2 separate regions of the Homo sapiens genome follow, and region 2 is linked to region 1. The links are contacts of gene promoters, found by promoter capture Hi-C in human tissues and cell types (Jung and others, 2019). All regions are on one chromosome and are shown on one strand. Each heading gives the region's core, a stretch centred on a gene start or on the middle of the fragment in contact. The rest is flanking DNA. Distances are from core to core; before and after follow the strand shown. Region 1 holds the start of NRG3 (neuregulin 3). Region 2 has its middle 98 kb from the start of NRG3.

Region 1 (3,434 bases), core at 93-2,592:
TGGGAGTCCAACCCCAAATCCTTTCATATTTACCTCTCACAAACACTTGCCTTGTAACGTGTGTACCTGTGCGTACATTTACAGGTAAAGACAATATTTTAAGGCAAGTTCACATAAATGGCTTGGAGATATCTGACAGGTCTGATTATACAAAGGTCTTCTGCTCCACCTGCATCTCTCAGGAACTCAGGCAAAGGTGGCCTTCCATCCAGCCGCACCGCCATCCGGCAGGGGAGGGCACAGGCACCCTCCCACCCGCATCCGCCCCCGCCCCCTCGCCCAGCAGCGTCAGTCTCTGACCCCACTGGATCCGTACAGGAGACGACTCACAATCGGTCGGAAGCTGCTTTTGCCCCCCCACCCCACCGCAAACGGGGGTTTGCTTGGATCATTTATCTATCTTGTGTGCATTAAGAAACCAGCATTAGCTGCTAGTGGGAGGCGCTACTCTGCCCGAATCCCAGCCCGCCGCGGCGATTCTGCACACACACACGCACCAGCCTGGCAGCCAGAGCCCGTCTGGAGACGCCCTCAGCCCGGGGTCTGCGTTCCCCGGGACCCCCGACGCAGTCTCCCGCTTCCGTCCCCCACGCTCAACCGGGCAGGGCGCCGGGGCGTGATTTCCGATCCTCTGCCTGCTTGTTGGGTCCCTCGGAGGCGGGTCAGACCGCACCCGCCGCGGGCGCCCGGTGCGCCCCCAGCCCCTGGCTCGCGGCGGCGACAGCGGCGCTGTTCGCTGGAGTTTGACTCTCCGGCGGCGGCGGCAGCGGCGCGCAGCAGCGAACGGCTGGAGCAAGGCGAGCCGGGCCGCTAGCCCTCCGCGCTGCGCTGGGATTGGTCTCTCCAGAAGAGTGCTGGCCGAGGGTTGGCTGCGGGCCGGCTGAAGAACAGGTGCACCTCACCGCCCGGGCTCGCGGAGCAGCCGCCGAAGATCGCGGCGGCCAGGCAGGCCCTCTGTGTCGGAATGCGGGTGGCGGGCACCCGGCACCCCGCGACCGGCCGCCGGGGCCACTGAAGGCGGCGCGAGGCCCAGGCGCGGCGCGAGCGGGCGCCCCAGGGAGCGGGCTGGGCGCGGTGCCCCGAGGATGTCGGCGCTCCTGGAGCGCACGCAGGCGGCGGGCAGCAGCAGCAGCAGCGGGCGCGGGGACCCGGCGCGCAGGAGGCGGCTTGGAGGGCTGCAGACGCGCCCCGCCGCTCTCTGACCGACCGGAGGCGCCGGGGGCCCGTCTCGCCCCTCTTCCGAGCTCCTTACCGCCCCCTCCCCGGCCCCGTCCCCTCCCCCGCTCCTCTCCTCCCCGCCCGCCGCCCGCCTCTCGGGGGGAGGGGCGTGGGGGCAGGGAGCGGATTTGCATGCGGCCGCCGCGGCCGCTGCCTGCGCCCGAGCCCGCCGCCGCCGCCGGAGCCCGCGCCCGCGCCCGCGCCCGGCCCGCGCGGCCCCATGCCTCTGCCGCGGCCCTCGGGGGGGCGAAGGTGAAGACCGGCTCCTAGGATGAGTGAAGGGGCGGCCGCTGCCTCGCCACCTGGTGCCGCTTCGGCAGCCGCCGCCTCGGCCGAGGAGGGCACCGCGGCGGCTGCGGCGGCGGCAGCGGCGGGCGGGGGCCCGGACGGCGGCGGCGAAGGGGCGGCCGAGCCCCCCCGGGAGTTACGCTGTAGCGACTGCATCGTGTGGAACCGGCAGCAGACGTGGCTGTGCGTGGTACCTCTGTTCATCGGCTTCATCGGCCTGGGGCTCAGCCTCATGCTTCTCAAATGGATCGTGGTGGGCTCCGTCAAGGAGTACGTGCCCACCGACCTAGTGGACTCCAAGGGGATGGGCCAGGACCCCTTCTTCCTCTCCAAGCCCAGCTCTTTCCCCAAGGCCATGGAGACCACCACCACTACCACTTCCACCACGTCCCCCGCCACCCCCTCCGCCGGGGGTGCCGCCTCCTCCAGGACGCCCAACCGGATTAGCACTCGCCTGACCACCATCACGCGGGCGCCCACTCGCTTCCCCGGGCACCGGGTGCCCATCCGGGCCAGCCCGCGCTCCACCACAGCACGGAACACTGCGGCCCCTGCGACGGTCCCGTCCACCACGGCCCCGTTCTTCAGTAGCAGCACGCTGGGCTCCCGACCCCCGGTGCCAGGAACTCCAAGTACCCAGGCAATGCCCTCCTGGCCTACTGCGGCATACGCTACCTCCTCCTACCTTCACGATTCTACTCCCTCCTGGACCCTGTCTCCCTTTCAGGATGCTGCCTCCTCTTCTTCCTCTTCTTCCTCCTCCGCTACCACCACCACACCAGAAACTAGCACCAGCCCCAAATTTCGTAAGTAAACACTGTGTCTCAACTATGATTTACTACTGAGTTTCCCTTCTGCCCTCCTGCTGTCTTTTTCCCTCGCCGCCTGTTTTCTAGCAAGCCCCCTCCCCCATCCCAGGTTTGGGGCAGAGTGAGAGCTGATTAAAACTGGCCACCAGCGGGGAAGAAGGTGCCAGCCTGCTCTGGTTCTGGGGGGGTGGGGGCGTGTAGGAACGGGAGGGAGATTGTCAGGCTCCACTGGCCCCACTTTAGCGGGTCCCAAGTGAGAACAGATCTCCCAACTCCCTTCAAAGGGTTAACGCGAGTGCGATCCCTCCTCACTGCAGACCTGCTGGCGAGCTGCCGGATCCCGCTCCAGTAGAGGGCCAGGGAGGGAGAGAGGGCCTTCCCGAAGGCACTGAGCCCCTTCTCCGCCCGCCGGTAGGAAGGAAAGAAAGCAAAGCACATGCAAATTGACCGACGATAAACCACAAAAGGAAGTTATGTCCTTGTGTGGGGTGACGAGTTGATGGAGATAATGGTAGAATGTTGCTGAGGACGCTTCCAGCAGCCCTGACCTGGGCAGGAACCAGAAAGGGTTAATTAGAAGCCACTGGGAGACTTGGGGAAAGGAGGCGATCCAAGGCAAAGGGCTAAACTGACCTCCTAGCCTGCCTGTGGCCATTCCAAGGTGTAGACATAGATTCTGTGACCGCCGAGAGTGAGTTAACTAGGAGGAAATATGAAGGGAGCCCTGCAGAGCTGCCACCTCTAGGGTCCTGACGAAGGAGGAGTTTTTTTCAGCCCTGCCAAGCCTTTGCTTTTGTTCCGTTCCCAAAGGTGGGGTGTGAACCTTATCTCCTCTCCCTCTGTGCCTGAAAAATATAGACGAGTTGAGAGTTTTCTGCACTCAAGGGTGAGAACATCCAACCGTTTGGAAACATGTCACCGTTAGAATGTAGCATCTTCAACCTGGGCTCAGTATGAGCCAGTATACCCAAAGCATGATAGCTTTCTGTTTATTTGTATAGAAAGTGCGTATTTTCTCAACATTTTTATAAATGTTGTAGGTGACTAATTGACCTCCCACCCCAACCCCCACCTTGTTCTTATTCAAAGGAAATCTCAGGTGTCTTTTAAGCTGATCTG
Region 2 (3,448 bases), core at 528-3,027, 98 kb before region 1:
AAGGACTAAGATGAGCTAAGATAGAGAATTTAAGATATTATTGTGTGCATTCCATTCCTGCATAACCATAGTGGAACTCTCTTTGCTGTCACTAAATATAGAGACTTTATTTCTGTTTCTTACTATCCAGTCTCACCAGCAACATATTTTGTAGGAAATCTGCCAAGTTCCTGACTCATAGATGCAAGCTTCTATATTTTACAGGTTGATAGAGTTTGTTTATTTTAATATTTCTTTGTGTGTGTGTGTGAAGACCCCACATTTAGGTTACCTGATGCACAGTAAGCCCAACACTAACATATTAGTGCTTAGGAGCAGAGAAAGGTTTGATTTGGCTAAAGTGTGAGGGTGGGAGAGACAAATTTGTCAAATCCAGCATGCCTTTGAATATAACTGGCAGCTCTTATGAGTAAGGTAGGTAGTGGGAGGTGAGATGCCCTGAGGATCAAATCTGCTGTGTCTCTTGGTCCAGTCAAACTTCTGGACAGCATCAAAAAGTCTCCATGACCTAAGAATCATTGTTCTTTGAAAGAAAACCAAGTGCATTACTTTTTCAGGTAGCCACTAGGGGTTAGGATATTGGCCAATTATTCGTGACTACTCTCTACTGAAATGAATATGTGCAAGCAAGCATGCACACAGGAAAAAAAAAGGACAAAGAAAAAGGAGAATAAGTAAAACAAACGTCTTAGATTTTTATAATATAGGCTCAGTAACAATTTTGGAAAGAAATTGAACAGTCTCAAATCACTGTTTGAAAACGAAAGCTAATTTTTCTAAAGAGGAATGAAATCTAGCCAGCCTTGTTCTTGGCTATTTGAACAGTATCTCTCTCACATTCTTTGTTTTTTCTTCCCAGTACACCATCACATGATTCATTCAAGGCTTGCAGCCTCACGCTTGGAACTTATCCGTAGACTCCTACTTCTAGTTTATGAGAAATGTCACTCCATATTCACATTAAAGGTGGATTTTCCCTGTCCATGCCATATATCAGGGAAAAGTACACTGTTTTCTAAATAATATTTCTCTAAGCTCCCTAATTAAAATAGTTTACTATCTGTCATTCTTATTTAAAGAATCATTGGTATCAGTGTATAAAGAAATAAACTTATTTCGCTCACATTAGCTCAAATATGGGCTCCTTAGCAAATGTCTATAGAATACCCATGCTTTGTGTTTTAGTTTACAGATTGTTTTTCATATGTACTACATCATGATGCTTAAGGGTCCTTCTCTGTCTCTGCAATGCGGCTCCTTAGGCCACTGCTCAATGGCATCTCTTTTGAAAGCCCACGCCATGTTCCTCACAACTCTCTCTATACTTCCCTGTTCTACCACCTGGGACACTACTTCACGTCCCTCAAGGACTTTAGCACCTGCCTCCCACCCTTACTTTCCAGCCCATTTGATCTCTGCTATTTTTCCAAGTGACCCACGTCATTAAGGGGGTGTCCCTGCTAACTGTCAATCTCACAGTTCCTGGGTCTCCTCAACAAAAGTCTTCAATTCCATCAGTCCACACCTCTGTGGAGGCATAGCTCTATTTCAGCCTTGTCCTCGCCAAAAACATCCTACATACAAACTTTCTTAAGCAAAGTTTTCCCCTCTGATCAAATCTCAAGCCCAATATTCATTTAGCCATTCACTAATTTATTTACTGTCCCTAATGACTCCCTGCCATGTTTCATCAACCCTAGATCCACTATCAGGCAACTGAACCCCCACTTTCTGCTCATTAGAGTAGGTCCTGCTCGAGTCCTAAGCCCCAAATCTTATTATAAAAATTTAATCACTTTATAACATAGCACTAAAAGCATCTAACTGGTGAAAATTCTTTTATGCTTCTCTCTGATTTTGTAGATTTTGAGATAAGATTTTTAAGGAGAAAAATCCAAGGAAGAATGCACCCATTATTAGTACATGAGGATACTTGAGAATGTTAACATTTTGATAACAGACAGACATTAAGAAAATATTTCATGTTATTTTATCAATGTATTCTAGTAGCCCATGTACAACATGTAAATGAACTCGTAAACATAATTTCCACATTCAAGGGAAATGGAAGACGTAATTTGTTACTTACTGCATAATGGGGAAAATGGAAATTTATAAAACCACCTAAAGAACTTTAAATATATCAGTGCCTGGACCCCATGACATATCAATTAAATCAAAATATCTGTGGAGGGGTTTAGGCATTCGTATTTATTCTAATTTGTACAGGTGAGTTATAAGACTCATCCAGGGTTGAGAAGTACTCATCTATGTAAAAGATCTACTAACTCTGACAGTAGATCGTTCTGAGAACCATCAGAAGCCGTGGCAGTGTTAAGGGTTCACATGTTTATTTTCTATTTCCTGAGATTTAATTTGCCCAGATGGCTTCCTAATTGATTTGTTTTGCTTCAGGTTAGTTGAAAATCTCACTCATTCAAAATGAACCCAAAATGTACCATGCATTTTAATTACTGTGGTGATTTTAGCTTAAATCTAAGCTTTTATCATACAGTGATAAGAACATACAGAACTTCTGCTAATGTGGAATAACACTTGAAAATTAAAATATTGGTTTCCAATTTCAGCTTTTCACACAGAATCGTGATTTTATTGTTTATTAGCTAATGTATTCAGAATGACTCAACAGTAGTCCACCTTTATCTGGGCTTTGCTGTCTGTAGTTTCACTTACCCATGGTCAACTACTGTCTGAAAATATTAAGTAGAAATTAATTAAATGGAAATTTCCTGAAATAAACAACTCATAAGTTGCACACCATTCTGAGTATTGTGACAAAATCACATGCTGTCTACTTTGTAGAGTCACTATTTGTCCAGTGACTTCATGCTGTCTACACCACCTGCCCTTTGTCACTTACTAGCCCTTTTGGTTACCAGAATGACTGTTCAGATAGCCCAATACTTGTGGTCAAGTAACTCTTATTTTACTTAATAGTGGCCCCAAAGTATAATAGTAGTGATGCTGGCAGCTCAGCTATGCCAAAAAAGAAGCTATAATGTACTTCCTTTAAGTTGAAAGGTGAAAGTTCTTGACTTAATAAGCAAAGAATAAAAGACCATATGCTAAGGTCACTAAGCTCTATAGTAATAATGAATCTTCTATCTATGAAATTGTGAACAATATATTGTTATAAGTGTTCTATTTTATTATTAATTGTTATCTCTTACTGAGCCAGTTTATAAATTAAACTTTGTCATAGGTATGTATATATAGAAAAAACATAGTTTATATAGGGTTTAGGATTCAGTATTATTTCTGGTTGCAAGCATCCACTAGGGGTCTTGGGACATATCCCCCCCAGGGAAAGGAGGGGACTACTGTAACTATTTTGTTTTCAAAGAAGCATTCTCAGTTAAGCCTGATGTCGTTTTGTTTTTTTGTTTGTTTGTTTACATTCATCTGTCTTAAACTGTATTTATTGCAG

Evidence for each region. The method cuts DNA at HindIII sites, captures the fragments that hold promoters and counts their contacts. A contact is called where the count stands out against the background at its distance.
Region 2: a fragment that was not itself captured here is called in contact with the fragment with the promoter of NRG3 in region 1 in 4 of the 25 tissues and cell types used here (adrenal gland, aorta, heart right ventricle and 1 more).

The regions. Positions count from the first base shown.
Region 1 is chr10:81,873,852-81,877,285 of GRCh38, forward strand. It overlaps NRG3 (neuregulin 3), which reads left to right and starts at 1,343. Exons shown (of 9, transcript NM_001010848.4): 1 at 1,343-2,312. The coding sequence starts at 1,490. It overlaps LOC124902549 (a long non-coding RNA gene), which reads right to left and starts at 667. Exons shown (of 2, transcript XR_007062377.1): 1 at 498-667. RefSeq lists an enhancer at 2,292-3,054. The HindIII fragment of the contact is 10,350 bases long and covers 1-3,434 here.
Region 2 is chr10:81,775,408-81,778,855 of GRCh38, forward strand. No RefSeq gene overlaps it. Among named protein-coding and RNA genes, the nearest start is that of NRG3, 98 kb to the right of the region's middle. The HindIII fragment of the contact is 4,841 bases long and covers 1-3,448 here.